Linked DNA regions of Homo sapiens: region 1 is linked to region 2. Evidence: promoter capture Hi-C in human tissues and cell types (Jung and others, 2019). All regions are on one chromosome and are shown on one strand. Each heading gives the region's core, a stretch centred on a gene start or on the middle of the fragment in contact. The rest is flanking DNA. Distances are from core to core; before and after follow the strand shown.

Region 1 (4,595 bases), core at 879-3,378, 61 kb before region 2:
ATATTCTCTCCTTTCTGTCTTTTTCAGTGGTAGTTGGAAGTCTGAGATCAGGGTGCTGACACTGCTGGGTTCTGGTAAGGGCCCTCTTTCTGGCTTGCAGATGGTCACCTTCTCACTGTGTACTCACATGGCCTTTCCTCAGGGGTGGAGTGGGGGAGAGAGGGAGAGGGAGAGGAAGAAACAGAAAGGAAGAGAGAGAGAGAGGAAGAGAGAGGAAGAGGAAAAGAGAGAGAGAGGAAGAGAGAGGGAGAGAGAGGGAGAGAGGGGGGGGAGAGAGAGAGAGGAAGAGAGAGAGAGAGGAAGAAAGAGAGAGGAAGAGAGAGAGAGGGAGAAAGAGAGAGAGAGAGATCTTCCTCTTATAAGGCCACCAATCCTATCAGGTTAAAACCCCATCCTTAAGAACTCATTTAACCTTAATTACCTGCTAAATTCCTGTCTCCAAATATAGTCACTTTGGAGCTAGGGCTTCAACATATGAATTGAAGGGGTCCCTAGCAAGTATCATGCAATAGCAGCAGTCAATGAAATACAGAAGCTATCACTAGACAGCATGGGATACAGGCCATGTGGAAGTTATAGAGAATAAGTGCAAAGATGAGCTTACCAAGGGCTGATGTAGTAAGGATCCTCTTCCTGGAAGGGGAAAAACTTGGGAGTCTTGTTGGAAGAGCAGAGAGAGGAGCTGTTCACATGAGAGGCTAAGGAACTGGAGGGAGAAGCACAGTATGTTCAGGCTGCAGGAAGATGTGCTGGACAATAGCAGCTTTTTGCAAAACGAGTCATCTTATGCCAGCTGGGTATGGAAGAGTGAACAAAGCAGAGGCTGGAGAAGAGGCCAGGAACTGGAAGTCCCGTTGAAGTGGAGGCAGGCGGTCAGCAGGCAGGCAGTCAGGGATGTCCTGTGCCAGGGGCTGGATGATGGGCAGGCAGAGAGCATGAGGGGAGACGTGTCCAGCAGTGAATATGAGGATGGGGGTGGGAAGAGACTGCAGCAACAGCACACAACAGAGGCAGGTTGGGGCCAGACTGAAGTGGGGCTTGCATGCCACACCAAAGGATCTGATCCTCATCTCATGGGTACTTTTAGGGAAAGGCTACATAGATGATTAGCTCACAAAAAGGAGGCCTGTCCATGCATTGGCTGGCAGCCATGCTCATACTATTTGAATGATATAGCAAAAACTGCCTCTGCTGAATAAGAAATCTTGTGCCTCAGCTGCATTTATGAAAGCTTATCCCATCATCACTCAATCATTTTAATGAAGAATTTGTCCTAGGATCACAGACTCCTCAGGTTGTAAGGGCCTCAGAGTCCCTAGTCCAGCATCCCCTGACTTAGTCCTGCCATTCACTAAGGGGTTAAATGAGTTAAATCTGCACTTAGATCCCTGTAGAAACACTTACAATTACATTTGACACGATTTTCAGAATGTCCTGTTGGTAGTGTTAGCAGCTCTGTTGGAGGAGCAGATGTCTGGCTTGTTAGATCCCAACCTAACAGGTAGCTTGAGACAATGGCAAGTGTCCACTCAGAAGCAATGTGGTGCTACAGAATGATGTTGCCTTCCATCCTGAAACAAAAGGAATGTCTCTCTAAACAGCCATATCACAGGCTGAGTTTAATTTTTAAGTGCTTACAACATGGTGTCTTGATCTCCTCCCTGCCAACAGTCTTCAGCCTCCTGGCTCTACCTCCAACAGGATAACCTCAAAAAGGTTATAAATTGACATCACTAAGGCCCAAAGACATGGCAGGGAAAACCCTCCCTGCAATACTGCGTTAATAATACTGAACTCTTGCTTAAGGGTTTGATTTCTCTCAAAAACACTCATTCCAGGAGACTTTACATTGCCGAAGGAATTTATTTGCCAGCAGTCCTCCTTTCAGGGAGACAGGACAGGTGAACCTTGACCGCTCTGCATTCTTGAAATGCGTTCTTCCCTCTTGGTTTTCCTCCTACCTCCCAGGCCTCTTCTTCTCTGTCCGTTCATTGGTACCTGCTCCTCTGCTTGCCATCTCAGTATTGGCCAACTCAGATCTCAGCCTGGGGGTCTTTTCTCATCTCCATTTATACTGTTTGGATGAGCTTATTCAGACCCAAATCTAACTATTTCCAGTGCCCCTATGACTGCCAGGCATGTGTCTTCAGGCTCCTGAGGAGAGACTCATGCATCCTCTGGCTCCCTGGCATGTGCACCTGCTGTTGGCAGCACCTGGGGCAAACCCCAGCTAATATCACTTCCCAGCTTCTTTAGATTAAAAGCAATGTCCTGAAGTTGCCCTTCAATGCTGTACATGAGCTGGCCCTTTTCTGTGTCTCCAATGTCACCTCTGGCCACCCCCTCTCTCACTTCTGTTAACTCTCCAGCTCCTTCCTCCATAGGGCCTTAGTGCTCATTAACACCCCTGCTGGAATGTTCTACCCCAAGACTTCAAGTACCAGGCTGCTGCTTGTCATTCTGACTCACCTAAATGTCACCTTGCTAAGAAGTCTTCCCTGCCCTTCCCATCTCCACTCACCGACTTCCTATCTCATGGCCCTGTTCGGTATCTTCACAGCATTCCCCACTGTCTGAAATGAGCTTGTTTGTATATTTGCTCACTAGTTTATCCCACTGCCTCTTCCTCTAAACTACAGTCTCTGGGAGTGCACAGATCTCACCTGTCTCATTCAACACCCTATCCCCAGTACCAGAAACAGGACCTGCATGTAGACAAAGCTGAATATATGTTTGTGAAGGAATAAATAAAATCATCTGAAGAGAGTAGAGAAAAAGCATCACAAAGGGAGGAAGACACTGAAGACCAACCTCCCTCACTTTCCAATGTCCCTAGGGACCAGCTTTGTTCTACAACATGAGTGGAGGACACAGGTGCAGACTGTGAAAGGCCAGGAACTAGAGACCTCCAGTGCAGCCACAGAGCCCACAGCCATAAGAGCACCCTCCAAAGAATCAGCAAAGACAGATGCAGGCCCATCCAGGGCAAATGAAGATTTAGAAGAATTGTGCCATTTCTTCACATGGCCAGAGGCCATGGACTCTGGGAAGAGAGAGTTTGCAGAGTTCCCTGTGCCTTGCACATGCGCATTCCCTCCTGAATACTTTCCTTTCCTTCCTCAGCAGGCTGTTTCCGCTCTTCTGCTACAGGCTGATCAATGACCACTCAAAAGATATCAAAAACTAATCCCTGGGACCTATGAATGTTATTTTTACAGGAAAAAAAAAAGTCTTTGCAGATGTAAGGATCTTAAAAAAGGGGAGATGATCCTGGATGATCCAGGTGGGCCCTAAGTACAATCACGTGTTCTTACACAAAAGACACAGAGGGAGACTTTACTCAAACCAAAGAGGAGAAGGCAATGTGAAGGCTGGGGCCAAGAGTGGAGCCACAAGCCAAGGAATGCCAGCAGCCACCAGACACCAGAAGAGGCAAGAAATGGACTGTTTCCTGGAGCCTCCAGAGGAAACATGGCCGGGCCAACACCATGATTTCAGCCCCACGAAACTGATTTCAGACTTCTGGCCTCCAGAATTGTGAGAATAAATTTCTGTTGTTTAAAGCCACCAAGAGGGTGGTAACTAGTGAAAGCAGCCACAGAAAATGAATACAGATTGTTAATATGCAGCTGAATACCTCCTCCTCTTGAGTGTCACCCTCATACTGCCCCCTAGGCTAGGCAGGGACCCTGCCACAAGGCTCCCGGTGCATTAGGGTTAATCCATGTATCTGCCATCCTCATCAAGCTGTTAATTCCCTGGGGACAAGGGCTGTGCCCTCTCACCACTCAGTGAGTGCATAAGACCCAGTAGCTACTCCATCAACATTGAATGCAACTGAATTAAACCCCTACAGTTGTCCAACAAAGAAGTGGACTGGCACAGGAAGTGGTGGGCTCCTCTTCACTGAGGAACCAGACCAGGCCAGGCCGTCCATCTCTGTGAACAAAAAAAAAAAAACCCAAAGTGAAATCCTTTATGTACCAATGTAAAAAGAAATCTAAAATGCATTAAGTGAAAGAAGTGGCATGTGGAGCAATATGCCTAGAATGCTTCATTTTGTACAGAAAGTGGGTGAGAGGAAAGAAGAATCTCTATCAATATTTGCTTTCATGAGACACTCTGAGAGGGTACCACAGACCCCATAACAGCGGTAACACAGTGGAGGGGAATGCACTAATGAGGTATGGGAAGATTTGTCACTGTAGTGCTTTTTACATTTTTATATTAAATAAAATTAATTTTTAAGCACTCTCCAGGTAATTCTAGTGAGCACTTTCAGGAAGCAATGATTTGGGGCAAACGTGGGAATGTTTGCCCCAAATCATTCATGGTGTCCATTCTGGTTGGTGGATACCAGGGAACTGACACTTGCATCTTCATGTAATCAATACCCCAGGATGAAGTTCATGCTAAAATATGACTGGACTTACCAAAGTCCTATATAAATTCCTGGCCAATGTGTCTAGCATAGCTAACCAGGAGAAGCGCTGCCTGAGCCTGACGTCACAGCTAGCTGGTGCCAGAACCAGGAGAGGTCCACACAGAAAACCTCAAGGAGGAACCCTGGGCCTCAGTGATGGCCAGTGTGGTCT
Region 2 (4,489 bases), core at 1,193-3,692:
CTGTGATTCTGCAGTCCAGCTCTGGTCTCAAGATGAGGATTCACTGGGGGCAAGTGTGAAGTCTTTGAATAACTGTTATCCACTTTTACCTTCCAAAAATATATAATTGACCTGACTTTTTAAACAGGCACCCTAGACTCATAGGGGAAATAAAACACTGAACTATTCTTAGAATTGTGTAAAATTATTTAACCTAATACCACTCATTTTTCCTTCCAATGAAACCTTTTTCTATTAAAGTTGTGTATCCTGTTTGTCCTGTAGGGTGGGAGGGCACTGGGGAAGAAAGTTAAGGCTTGTAGGCAGTAAGCCCAAAAGTAATTTGTAAATGTTTCTGTTTTAAAATTCAGGTAAGGAAGTGGCTACAGGTGCCACCCAGATGTGGATTCAGTCCTCAGGGTAACCTGGAATGGGAGGGAAGGCAAAGATTCAGCCCATTTCTCTTGTCAAATAAATCTGTTTTTGAAGACACTCTTTTTTAAAAGATAGGGATCTGTAAGAGGAAGAGGAGCTTTGTGGGGTAACAATGGGAACTGTACAATCAAAAGTGAAGACCTCGTAGTTCTCCCTCCCCGGCAGCAACCAGATATTTCCCTGTGGTAGTTAGAGAGGTGATAGGACTTCTCCTTTCTTCCCGCTCTCAGTCGTAAAATCAGCCCCATTTCCAGGGTTCGTTTCCACGTGGCTCAAGATTTCTTCCTGGCAGTCTGGGAACTGGGAACGTTTCCCTTTGTGGGAGCCCCTGACCCCAGAGAGGAGGCAGAGGAGGGGAAAAGAACCAGCTTAGCCCTGAAACCTTCTAAAGAGCACTGAGCCTTCGGCCTCAGAGAGAAGGGATTTGTGAATGACAATGGCGCGCTTTTGGCCAATGGGCTGGGTAGGCAGAAAGTGTGAGTTTTCCTTCTTTTTAGGATGGGAGGCTTTGGGGTATTGGCGGGGGAGCACTAGGTTGATTTCAGCCCCTTAGGATAAAGCCCAATTTGTGCCTTGAATGTCTTTAGAAACTAGAAGATGGGTGAAAAATTCTTTCATTGCCCGTTGAAACTTATGCCCAAACGTTTCGATTTTCATGTCTCTGTAACTGTGTTTTCAGGATATTAATTTAAAATAGACACAACTCCTGAGCAACAAGCCCCTCACGTTTCTGTTCAATTGACTTTCCTTGGGTTTATTAACCTTTGATGAAGGTTAAGATTTCACATTTTTGCTCTTGTATTTAGGAGTGGTATGTTGTTGGTGCTATGACACAATCTGGGTGGGCTTTCAGCTTGGTAGATGTTTTTCCATCATTTCCACAATGCTAGGACTGTTTCACTAGGCAGCAATTGAAAATTCAGCTATGGTAGTAAAGGAAAAACTTAAAGGATTTCCCAGCCCCACCCCAGCCGGCATCCTTCTTAGAACATACTCCAAATAAGTGGTTTCTTTCCTTTCCGATAAACTAGCCAGTGGTCGTTTTGACTCTTAACAGCTGGTCAATTGGGACGCACTATATTGACACTTCATTAATACACTAGGGTGCGCCTCATTTAGGGAAACTGTGAGGAAATGTTTTCTCATCCTAGTCTTTATTTTAGGGGAGGAGATCATGCTTCTACATGTTTTCCTGATTAAATTTATTTATTTCTCCAGGAAAATTGGCAACTTGCTGAAGGACTCTTCCATGTGGGGGACCTCCCTGCTTCCCTGCCCCACCCTTTCCTTGTGTAGAGGTAGCCTTACGGATCTTGTAAAATGGGTTAGAGGACGATTCTGAATGAAGTTTGATAAATCGATGTGCATATGCACATATTGGGGTCCTCACCTAATTGTACACTCCATAAAATAGAGAAGGCTGCAGTGACTCTGCATCTTGTCCTATAAAGCAAATGTATATGCAAAAGTCGGGGCACTCCAAGTTTTCTGATTGGGCACCCTATGTGGAAACTTCTCTCCTTTTTCTCATTTCATAGCGTTTCAAAGGAGTCACTGAAGCTAATTTATTCTCCAGCTGACTGTGGATTCTGTCTTCAGACACAGAGCAGCTTTGCATCCTGTACCAGAGGGATCATTCATGAAGGAGGGTGACTCAGAAATGAGGGGAGGAGACAATAACGGTCAGGGATATAGTTAATTTGGAGGCGTCCTTCTAGAATCCGGGGCCTCCAGGATCTAGGTCCCGGGATGCAGGCAGACTGTTCGCTTTCCACTCCTAAATCAGATCTGCGGCTCCAGCACCATTGCTGCAGTTTACTCCGGGGCTGAGGAGGTTGTTGTCAATTGCGAGTTGGTTAGGTTGGTAGCTTTCGTGCCTGCTGAGAAAGGATCTCTCTGTTGCTCGCGCTGGCTTTCGCTCTCCCCCTCCCTCCCTGTAACATGCCAGCCCTTTAATGTGGAGTGTCAGGGAGACGGTGACGTCACCCTGCCCGCTGGGTGGCGTCCCCTCGGTCCGACACGAGTTCAGAGACAGACGCTGTCAGACTGCGCTCCACTTGGGGCTCTCCTGCCGCGGGTTTCTGCGTACCCACACTTTCTGCGGTGGAGGGGACGCCCCGCCGCAATTCAGGCCGTCATTCTCCCCAGGCCGGGGTTTGAGCGCCATTCGCTCGGGCCAGAGCCCGGATCTTCGCGCGGAGCCCGCCAGAGTCCCGCCCGCTGGATACGAGGACCCGCTTGGATGCTTCGCCTCCGAGCGCCCTCGGAAGATGGGCCGGCAGCCACACGCCTAAAGACACCCAGAGGTTACCAGGTATTGCCGGAACCGGCCGCCCCAATCCGGCACACAGCTTGCTGGGCACCTATTTGAGATCCCCAGCGGTAGGATTTTCCGCGTTAGGTTGAGGGGCAGCGGTGGGCTTCCGTGGTGACTGGTTTGGGAGTCGGGAGAACTAAGTTGGGGGTGGGGGGGTCTTTGGCTGTTGGGCAGGATAGGGAAGTTCACCAGGTTCCTTTCTCAGTTCAACTAACTTTTAATTGTCTCTTCTCCCCTCCCCACCCACCCAAAAAATAATGCCCCAACCAAAACCTTGTGTCTGCTCTGACGGCAGTTTCTGGGAGGGCTTGGGGTAAAAGTGAGGAGACACTTCTGCCTGGTCTACTGCTGCTAAGGCTGCGAGTCCTTAACGCAGAGCCAGCTTCCCGCCCCGGCTGGCCAGCCGCGCGCCTTGCTGGGGAGCGAGAGTTGGAATTATCCCAGGGTCTTATTAAGCGGATATGAATCTTGTTTGGTAGGGAAATGAGCATCGAAGGGCCACCTGACGAAGCTAGTGTTGGTTGTATCAGACTCGGGTGTCACTGCGCCTTGAACTGCCATGTAACGCCCTGTCCCCTGGAAATATTGTCTCTGATCCACCCAAAGTGACAAGCAGGCTTTCCTCTCCTTTGATCGCGTCGAGGTTTGTTCAAGCTTCCTGGAGGCCGCCAAATGTAATGAGAACTGAGGATCCAGGGGGCAGCAGGACAGAGGCTGCTGTATAGATGCCACAGGGGCCCAGAGAGAGGACACGGATAAGAAATTGGGTGAGGGAGTAAGATCGTGTACCCTCTGAAAGCACTGTAATAGCGAACTCGCTGTACGTGGCCGAAAGGGGCCACGCTATGGCCTCTGGTGATTTTTCAGGGCAAAGCATGCCTTGGCCAATGCGCTTGAGATGTAGCTGTGGAAAGATCAGTGTTTGTTTTCCTAGGGAGTGAGCCACTTTCCTTCTTTCCACTTAGTGGCATTGTCACTAAAATTTCTTTCCGCTTCCTTGTTCTGTATTTTCAACTTACTGAATATTTTCCCTCATTGTGGCATTCTGTTGACTGGAGGTGAAGTTAGAAATTTTACCACAGACCCAACCTGGGATTTCGACTTTCAACACTCCCATAGATTACCTAGTCCACCGATTGGCTGTATGGTGGGGCAGCTTTTCCCCATAAAGATATAGAGATATCAAAATAAATTAGGGGAAAAGAGTCACAGAAGGTGGTTCACATCAAGCTAAAAAATTTGCCTTTTGAAGTCTGCCAATGAAGATCCCCAAGAATTGTTCATTCCTGTGTACTGTTTCTGGGTTTAACACCCTTGCCTCTACTTACTTTCTTATCGTCATGGAAATGACAGTAAAACAGTTTTTAAATGACTACCATCTTCAACTTCATGTTTTTAAGCTACCTAACCATCTGAGACCAGAACCACTCAGTTCAGCAAGTAGGTTTTTTAAAAACTGAAACATTCTATTTTGGTGCAACGGTGTATATGACTTTGTACATTTTTCACCTTTTCAAAAAAATAATTCTAATTACAGTAACAAAATATCTAATGGCAAGGGTGAGGGAGAAGGCTGATTTCGTTTTGCTTTAATGACCTGTGTTTCAACCAATAATGAATTTCCCCAAGGAAACCATAGACACCAAGAAAATCACTTTTTAAAGGGTTTTGGGGGTTACTTTTTAACCAAAATCAATCTATCTCCAAGCAAATGAGAATGACAGCTCTTTAAATTTGGGTTTCAATGGCCAAGCCCCA

What was found. Contacts are between HindIII fragments. The study calls those that stand out against the background at their distance.
Region 1: a fragment that was not itself captured here is called in contact with the fragment with the promoter of SKOR2 in region 2 in 2 of the 25 tissues and cell types used here (spleen and thymus).

The regions. Positions count from the first base shown.
Region 1 is chr18:47,310,263-47,314,857 of GRCh38, reverse strand. The region is part of intron 1 of MIR4527HG (MIR4527 host gene); the gene reads right to left. Among named protein-coding and RNA genes, the nearest start is that of MIR4527HG, 27 kb to the right of the region's middle. The HindIII fragment of the contact is 6,401 bases long and covers 1-4,595 here.
Region 2 is chr18:47,249,613-47,254,101 of GRCh38, reverse strand. It overlaps SKOR2 (SKI family transcriptional corepressor 2), which reads left to right and starts at 2,442. Exons shown (of 9, transcript NM_001278063.4): 1 at 2,442-2,728. RefSeq lists an enhancer at 2,058-2,574. The HindIII fragment of the contact is 10,120 bases long and covers 554-4,489 here.